2 separate regions of the Homo sapiens genome follow, and region 2 is linked to region 1. The links are contacts of gene promoters, found by promoter capture Hi-C in blood cells and fetal thymus (Javierre and others, 2016). All regions are on one chromosome and are shown on one strand. Each heading gives the region's core, a stretch centred on a gene start or on the middle of the fragment in contact. The rest is flanking DNA. Distances are from core to core; before and after follow the strand shown. Region 1 holds the start of PEX5 (peroxisomal biogenesis factor 5). Region 2 overlaps CD163L1 (CD163 molecule like 1).

Region 1 (4,673 bases), core at 1,488-3,987:
AGAAAGAAGATAAATTGCAGGCCTGACAGTATAGCATCACAGTTAAGGCCACAGGGTCAGGAATCATTCAAATCCAGGATCAAATCCCAACTCTACCACTGACAAAGCTGTGTAACCTTGGGCACACTTCACCTCTAAGCCTCAATTTTCTTATCTTTAAACTAGGTCTAAAAACAGTAACTACCTCTAGGGTTCTCATGGAGAGTAAGTAGATAATGCATTCAAAGCATGTAACACAAGGCCTAGAACGTAACTATTGTTATTAATTTTTATTATCATCATCATGGTATGGTCTTTACCTTCTAAAGCCATACACTTCAGGCACTGGAACTTCACAATAACACTCTGAAGGCCCCAATTCTGTTCCAAATAACTTAAGGCCAGAATCCCAGGTGCTGTAGTGAATACTCTCTTCCTCGGCAACACTGCCATCCATCCAATCTGTAGATCCTCTCCACTAAACCACAGTGATAAAGTAAAAAGGCCAACCAAACTCTTCGTTCTCTCTATCCAAAATCTCTTATCCAGTACAAACCCAGTCCTCTCTTTAATATACATTACATTCCGTTATCACCTAAGGGAAATTGAGTTCAGTACCCTACCCCTCTAGAAATGAGTCATGAGACCAGAAAAATCGTAATCACACTATAACGTGAACAGGGGAAGGGTATAGAATTCTGTCCCATAGAAGCCAATATAGATTTTCCCATAACAAGTTTCACCTGTAACTTCAGAGATGAATTCTTGGGACCAGTCAGTCTCATTATAATCCTGAGTTACATCCACAGCATCTCCAGCTGCAAGAAACTCCTGGGCCCAGTTCTCAGACAAGGCCAAGTCTGCCACACCAGGGGCTTAAAAGAGAGAGAGAGAAAACTAAGAAAGAATACATACATACCATTCCATCATGCCTAAAGAACCCTGAATCCACGTGAAAACACTCTGTTACTTTTGTCTCCTTCTGCATCTCAGGTCCCCAATGCCAGCAGCATCCAATGGAACCCCCTTCCTTGGCCCTGGCTACATGGAAAACGATCTCCCCTCCCACTAGACTCTGGACTCACCTCTCTGGGGAGCCTGGCGGAAGTTTGACTGCTCAATCTGCTGCATCTCAGCCAGGAGGTCATCCATCTTGAAGGTCTGAGGGGCACGGGACACAAGGGGTGCATTCTGGTCCTGCAGGAATTCAGCCACCAACTGCCAGAAGGGAAATGATGAAATGAACCCATAGGCTTGGGAGGCCCCAGCAAGAGGCAGGACCCACTGGAGGGGGATCCCAATGTTAGATACAAGGAAAGGAAAACACAGAAACTGGAGACACATAAAGAGAAACTGTCTTTCCATAGATTTAGAAGGACGAAAAAATACATTTAAAAACAAGCAGGCATTCTCATTCGGTCAGGAAAGCCCAAAAATTGAAATACGGGTGAACTAAGTTTAAAGGTAAAAACACAGTGGGCAAGAGAAAAATGGGACAGAAAAGAGACTGGTCTATTTACCTCATCTTCAGAAGCTACTCCCAAAGGCTTGGAGGCCTAAGAGAGAAAGACAGAGATGTACAATGACGCAGTTCCTCTAAAATCAGGGGTTGATGAAGCCCATAGGCATCTGAGCCTCGGCTTCTTCATCTATAAAATGGTTGCATTTATTTAAAGGTGCACAGGGTTTTCTAGTGTTTATAAACGCTCAGTAAGTGGTAACTACTATGATTTGCAACACAATAGAGAAAGCAGTTATACCAAGATGTGCAAACAGCCCCTCCACCTCAGACCACCACCACCTGGGCTTTCCACCTCAAGAACACTCACTGCCTCAGAGGCTGCACCTGGGCTTTCCACCTCAAGAACACTCACTGCCTCAGAGGCTGCACCTGGGCTTTCCACCTCAAGAACACTCACTGCCTCAGAGGCCGGGGCTCCGGGGGGCCAGGGGCCAGGCCTCAATCCCTCCTGCCGAAGGGCCTTGTCCTGGGTGAAGTGCCCGGCGAGCTTCATGAGCGGGTTGGCACCCCCGCATTCGGCCTCCACCAGCTCCCGCATTGCCATGGTGACCGCCAGCTCTCTGATGGACACAGGAGGTTTGGAACTGAGGTACCCAAGCCAGACCCTTCTCACATCCACAACTCTGCCCGTATCTGAGGAAGGCACACAGGCGTCTGCCCCACACTGGCCGCCCTCCACCCCAGTGCTTTTGCTGCGACCCCCACCTCTGCCAGGAGTTCGAGGGAGGTCGGTACTCTCTCCTGCCGCCCCCCTCAAAGGCCACCGCTTCCAGCCTGCGCCTCTGCAGAGGCCTCCGCGACTACGGTCCCATGGGCTGGGGGCCAGCAGCTGCCTCCACAAAGGGGCCTGGACCCCGGGGGACCACGGGGACGCTTCAACAACCAGGCTGGACGGCGACACTGCCCGAAGAAGGGACAGTGGGAAAACAGCCCGACCATACCTAGCCCCGCGCAGCCCCAGCACGCGGTGAGCACGGCAGAGGAGCATTCCCTCCCCTTAAGTCACCGGAGCCCTTCCCCCGGCTCGGCCCGGTCCCTCCCGCGCTCCCCACCGCCCATCTCCCCGGCCCTGCTGCCGCTCCAGCCCCGCCCCTGGGACCCGCGAGGCCACCGCAAGGGTGGGGAGGGCCCAGGGACGCGGCCCCGGGCCCCCTCGGGGTCAGGCGCTCACCGCGGAGCGCCGCGCCGCACGACCCGCCGGGGCACCAGGTGCTGGCTTGGGGGAGGGGAGAAGAGGGGGCGGGGAGCCAGGGGGCGGGGCTCAGGCTTAAAGGGGCCGTGACCGCCCCGCAGCGGCCCAGGCCCAGCGGAAGCTGTCTGAAAAGGCGGGGCCTTAAGACTGCGACGCAGCCTGACGGGAAGAGCCGTGAGTCTTAAAGGGGAAGAGCACCTTAGAGAGCGGGTCTTGGAGAGTCGCCTTTAGGAGCGCTCGAAAAGGCCACGGGCCCTAGGATTTGTTTGACGGAAAGCTCAAAGAAGAGTGGAGCTAAGAAGGGCTTCCCAGGCTCTGGGGGAAAGCCGAAGACGCGAGATCCTAGGCTCAGTCGATCCTGCCTCTTCCCTTGGGCGCATTGTGACCTAAGGGGATTCAGTGCCCTTTCTGAGCCTCAGTTTTCCCCTCTAAAATGGGGCTGGCTAATGTTCCCAAGCCCAAGAAAGAGAAAAGCCCTAACACCAGGGGCTGGGGAGTCCAGTCCGAAGCCTTCTTCAGCCTCCTAGGCCTGCCCCGCTTCCAAATAACCCCTAGCGGGGTAGCGTCACTGTCTCCATGGAGACAGGGGCCCGCCCCCGCCTTAATCCCTCTCCACCTCTGCATAATGGGGAAAATAGCACTGCATGATGACAAATTCCGGAGACCAAAATAGGGTCCAACGCATCCTGAGACCTCGAGCTGGTAACGTACAGGGAAGGTGAACAGTGAGTCAGCCCTTCCTTCCGCTAAGTCAACATAGTGGCCTTATTCCCATCACTCCAGGCTGGGAAAGGACAAACATACAAGAAATGCTTTTAATCACGGAATAAGACTAAGCCTCAAGCCCCCTCATCTGCCAAAGAGTGTGCTCTGCTGTCAAACCTCAAAGTCATTGAGAAACAAACCCTGATAATCTCACCCAGCTTCAAGACCAAGGGAGTCCTAGTGTCATGGAGAAGAGCAAGGAGGGGCCCAGGGCTGCCGGTAAATGACCAAGGGCAATAATGCCAGACGAACAGAAGTACCATCCCAGCCCAGGGTGCATGAGCGGAGGCAGGCAGGCAGCAGGTGGCGCCATGGGCCGGGCTTGTTTCCTGGCTGTTCTGCAGATTTCAGAGGTGGAGGCCTCAGGGGGCCACAGGGAATGTCTGTGTAAACTCATCCCTGGGAAGACAGAGAAGCTGCTCTGACACCTCAGGGGAACAGAATGGCAGGGGACAGACCATAAGACTGTGCAACATTTCTCCTTTTCCTTGCCTTTTCGCCCTCTTTCAGAGGCCCCACTTCTACACCCCGTTTTCTTCCGGAGCACACAAATCCCAGCCCTTGGGCGTCCCCTGTTCTCAGGCTGCCATCGTGAGGAAAATACCTGATAAACTAAACCACACAAGGATGAAGAGATGCCCTCCAGAAGGTGCATACTTTTAAAAAGAGGACCCCCTAGAGAGAGCAATGTTTAAAGGAACCCATCTGATACAGTAGAATTTCAGAACCTCAAGGCAACCAGAGTTTCCCAGTACCACTTAAACATCACAACACACATAACCTTCTGCTCTGCTAGGAGTTTATCAACTGATTAGCCGTAACTCACTTTGTGTGCAGATCTTGGAAGAATGCTAATAATAATAACTGATGTTTACTAAAATCCAGGTGTTGTGTAAAACACTTTATGTATCTCAATGTTTTTAATCTTCTTAATACCCCTATTAAATAGATATTAGTAGACCCACTTTACAGATAAGACTTGTGCAAAATCAGATGGCTAGGAAGTCAAAATTTAATCCAGGCATAACTCTAGGCACCTACTTCCCAGTCTTAGAGAAGACTTACTGATAAACCATGGAGATCTTTGATCTCCTAGGCCATAGAATCATTCACAGAACTTGGTCCACAGTCCCAGCCAGAGGTGCTGGGAAAGGGCTAATAGAGTGACTTTGGTGTTTAATATTTAATTTACTGAAGCTCTAGATTTGAAACCCT
Region 2 (4,673 bases), core at 1,155-3,654, 250 kb before region 1:
AAAAGTAATACTTTTAAATACTATTTAAATACTATTTAAAAGTAAATACTTTTAAATACTATTAAAATAAAAAAGTAATACTATTAAAATAAAAATAAAAGTAATACTATTAATAAAAATAAAAGTATAATAAAAATAATAAATAAAATAAATAAAAATATATATTTGTTAATATATTAACATCCAGAGAAAAACACTATTGTTTAAAATACCAATTTGTGGCATTTTTTATAATAATGTTTCAAGAAAATTATTTCATTATATTTTATATATTGGTTATTACCTATATAGTTCTTTAACATTTTTATTTTATCACATATCACTTATGATACCTTGTTTTATTGGCTGTGTAGTTTTCTGTCATTTGGATATACCCAAATAGATTTTAATAAGACCTTATGAGTGATTATTGAAGTTATTTAATTGCTTTGTATTTCAGTAATTTTTCAAATATATTACATTTCATAGATCTGACACAGAAATTGTCATTTTTAAGGTTTTTCATTATTTTCTATATTTTTCATTAGTGCCAAATTTGTAGTTTAAATAAAATTTTATTGTTATTAAAGTGGATTCTTTTTTTTAAAGAGACGGAGTTTCACTCTGTCAGCCAGGTTGGAGTGCAGCTACAGATGTGTGCCACTATACCCAGCTAATTAAAAAAAATTTTTTACAGGTAGGGTCTCACTATGTTGTCCAGGCCGATCTGGAACTCCTGGCCTCAAGCAGTCCTCCCACCTCTGCCTTTCAAAGTGTTGAAATTACAGACATGAGCCATGGCATCTGGGCTAAATTAACATTTTAAATGCTGTTGAGATTTAATCATGGTATTGAAATGATTATTTTAATTGAATGCTTTATTTGTGCAATTTTCTTATTTCTGTTTAATCATAGATAATATTACTATATCTTTGTGTACTCCAAAATAGTATTGGTTCTTGTCCAGTTACAAATATTTTTGATTAATGTATTTGCTTTTTAAAATGCTTTAAATTTCTCGCTGTTTAATGTTATATTTGATTAGACAAAAATGGCCATTTTATAACATATATACAAATCATTAAGCATAATGTAATGGCACACATAAATCCATCCCTCAACCAGGAAACTGGATTTTTATCAACCATTTTTTTCTACGTATGTTTTCCTCTTCTCTTCCACCTACCTTCCAACCCCACCAGAGATAATGTCTATCCTGAATTGTGCATTTCTCACTACCTTACTTTTTAATAATACAATACTTTCTAATAATATGATAGATATAGATGCAGAAATAATGTATTGTTTAGTTTTGCTTATTTTAAGCTTTATAACATATCAAACTGCATTTAGTGTTCTGGGACTTGCTTTTATCTTTCAATATTATATTTCTAAGCTTCATCTCTGCTGTTGCAATGGCTATAATTATTTAAGTTTTCGTTAAGTAAAATATATTATCTTGTATAAATAAATATTCCCAGTGAATTTGTCTATTATCCTGTCAATAGTTATTTGGATTTTTCATTACTATTGTCAAATGTTCTGCTATAAATATGTCTCTGGTGCAGATTCATGGGAGTTTACTACGGTCTATAGGTAGGAGTAGAATTAGCAGGTTCTGGGATGTGCATGTTTTCAACTTTACCAGATAGGATGAATTCTGCTAGCAATGTATATATATTTTCAAATATATGTATGAGGATATGACTCATATCCTCACTCATATTTTAAATATTCAGAGTTCTAAATTTTTGCCAATCAAGAGAGTATAAAGCTATATCTTTTTATCTTAATTTTCAGTTTCCTAAAGACTAATAAGTTTAGGCATTTCTCCATGTATTTAATGGTCATGCCTTTTGTTTTCTTCTGTGAAATATCTGTTCAACTCATTTGCCCATTTTGCTTATTTTTCTAAATATATATATTTAAAAAATATAATCTAGATACTAGTCCATAGTCATAATATATGTTGCTAATATATTCTTCACATTTGTGACTTTTCACTTTTTATAGAGTGTATTTTGAAGAATAGAAGTTCTTAATTTATCAAGTTTTCTTTAATTTTATCACACCTTGGTAGAAATTTGGTATGTCTAAAAATTAGTAGAAATTCTAATGTACACGTTGAAAAAAACACCTTAATCAGTATATTGAAAAAATAGAAATGGCAAATATCAATCATATTAGAATATATCTCTGTGTGTGTGTGTATCAACTACATTTTTAAGAGCTTTCATTAGACTTAAGAGTTATATGATATGAGCACAGCCATTAGAATGCCCCTCACACACATTTCAACTAAAAAGAAAAATGTTCATATAGAAAGAAATAGGAAACAGTAGCAGCACTAGGAACTGAGAAAGAGAAATATAAGGAAACCAAAATTTCTAGTTATGAGTATAGTATAGGCAAGACCACACTGAATGAAGACTTATGGTTAACTCACAATCCACTTTCAGAAAGAATATTGTTATCTTTTGTGAAAAGTGTATTCTCACTAAGCCATTGTGTACTGAAACTCAGAACTGGGAAGCCTTTTCTATTGTACTCTCTCTCCCTGTTTCTCTCTCTGTCTCTGTCTGTCTCTCTCTCTTTCTGTCTCTTCCTCTCTCCTTCTTTTTCTTTCTCTTTTTTCATCTTTTTCTTCCTCCTTATTGCTTCTCTTTGTCCCTTTGGCTCACTTGCTCTTCTTACTAACACACCCTCTCATCATCATCATATGCACAGAATTCACCATAAAGTTTCACGTTGAAAACTCATGGTTGCTTTAAAATTTTCTCCCTTCACATTGGTTTTCCATTTAAATTTTTATTGTCTGTTCCTCAAAATTTTGGCTTACAAGTAGATTTGGGTTAATATTAACTTCACTTGTTTTAAGTTGATTTTTTCACCTAGGATTTTTTAAAATCCATTTTACTTATTTCAAATTTTTAAGATGGGAATATGAGTAGCCAATGGTCATCTGAAGGACTGCCCTTTCTGAAGTGGTTGTCTACCTGTGATTCACATAGCTGTTGATTAGAGAAGGTGGACTAGCATATTACAATCATGGACGACTAGGTCTTCTCCTCCTGCAAGGCCTATTGTTGAATGTATTTAAAACATCTGAGGATATAAATACTCAAAAGTATTTAATGCTGTAGATTTTATTGAGTAGAAAATTATTATGTCAACCTTACAAGATGTTTTCAATTATTAAGTATATAAAACATCTCCTTCAAAAATGTGAGGTGGACTCCTCAGATACAGATTATTTTGAAACTGACTAGCCAAGGGACTTTCTTTCATTCTGCGTGCACAACAGCAAACCTTACCTTTTCTGTGGTTTATATTGGTGGGAATTGCATAGAAAGAAAAAATTCTTTCCCTTCTTTTAATTTTCACATTACAATGCAAAGCAAAACTATGCTGCAATGTGGTCTCTAGTTCCCTATCATGAAAAATTAAAGCTTCTCACTTCAAATTTTCTCATTTTTATTTTCTCTCTACTATAAGTTCTAATAACAACATTTAAACTAAATGATCATCATCCATCTCACCTACTTATATTATTTCTGCCTTCTAATCTTTGCCATCTCTAATGTATGTTTCTGTCTTTCTTGCAGATGGAACAGATTTGGAGTTGAGGCTGGTCAATGGAGACGGTCCCTGCTCTGGGACAGTGGAGGTGAAATTCCAGGGACAGTGGGGGACTGTGTGTGATGATGGGTGGAACACTACTGCCTCAACTGTCGTGTGCAAACAGCTTGGATGTCCATTTTCTTTCGCCATGTTTCGTTTTGGACAAGCCGTGACTAGACATGGAAAAATTTGGCTTGATGATGTTTCCTGTTATGGAAATGAGTCAGCTCTCTGGGAATGTCAACACCGGGAATGGGGAAGCCATAACTGTTATCATGGAGAAGATGTTGGTGTGAACTGTTATGGTAAGAGTCTAACTAGAGTAGGAAGGCAAGGTAAGACCTACCCTCAGGAATCATCTGCTGGAAGGTAGGGGTTTCTATTATGACTTTAATAGTGTCCCTCTGGGAGGTGTAGGAAATATTTTATATATTCTACCCTTCCCTTATTTCCAAAGTAATGTCTAATTGCTTTTCTTTTTATAACTATAACTGAGTTTAGAAAGAAATGGAGAGAGAAAGAGAGAGACAGAGAGAGAATGCATTACAGTTACCAATGTAATATCTTTATCATAACTATAATTGAGTTTAGAAAGAAATGAAGAAGTTTGGGAGCAGGGTTAGCTTTGATTTAAGTGCCTTTTTTCATGTACCAGGTACACTAACAGAACAAATATTTTCTGAAAAATGAGGTATAAAATTAAAGCAAAATGATAAAGAATATCATGCTAATGATTGATTTTTTCACCTAGGATTTTTTTTGTTTGTGTATTTGTGTTTAGAAAAAAGCCTCACATACCCCTCCTATAAGTATTTTCAGTTATTTTTTTTTAATTTTTGGTAACTTCATTCATAACAGGGCTGTCTTCTACGTATCCTTTTGATTTTATTTCAGGCTCAAAGTTGAATCAGTTTTTCATATGTCTGCTTGTCTTTCTCGTAGGTGAAGCCAATCTGGGTTTGAGGCTAGTGGATGGAAACAACTCCTGTTCAGGGAGAGTGGAGGTGAAATTCCAAGAAAGGTGGGGAACTATATGTGATGATGGGTGGAACTTGAATACTGCTGCCGTGGTG

Evidence for each region. The method cuts DNA at HindIII sites, captures the fragments that hold promoters and counts their contacts. A CHiCAGO score of 5 or more calls a contact.
Region 2: a fragment that was not itself captured here is called in contact with the fragment with the promoter of PEX5 in region 1 in 1 of 17 cell types (erythroblasts); the score reaches 6.6 in erythroblasts.

Annotation. Positions count from the first base shown.
Region 1 is chr12:7,187,750-7,192,422 of GRCh38, reverse strand. PEX5 (peroxisomal biogenesis factor 5) reads right to left here and starts at 2,737. Exons shown (of 16, transcript NM_001351132.2): 1 at 2,673-2,737; 2 at 1,899-2,061; 3 at 1,500-1,535; 4 at 1,065-1,197; 5 at 723-854. The coding sequence starts at 2,045. RefSeq lists enhancers at 1,911-1,990, 1,448-2,163, 2,021-2,170, 2,164-2,880, 2,881-2,940 and 2 more and silencers at 2,361-2,770, 3,791-3,840. The HindIII fragment of the contact is 37,708 bases long and covers 1-4,673 here.
Region 2 is chr12:7,432,606-7,437,278 of GRCh38, reverse strand. CD163L1 (CD163 molecule like 1) reads left to right here. Exons shown (of 20, transcript NM_174941.6): 3 at 3,585-3,905; 4 at 4,543-4,673. Among named protein-coding and RNA genes, the nearest start is that of CD163L1, 9.2 kb to the left of the region's middle. The HindIII fragment of the contact is 2,053 bases long and covers 1,378-3,430 here.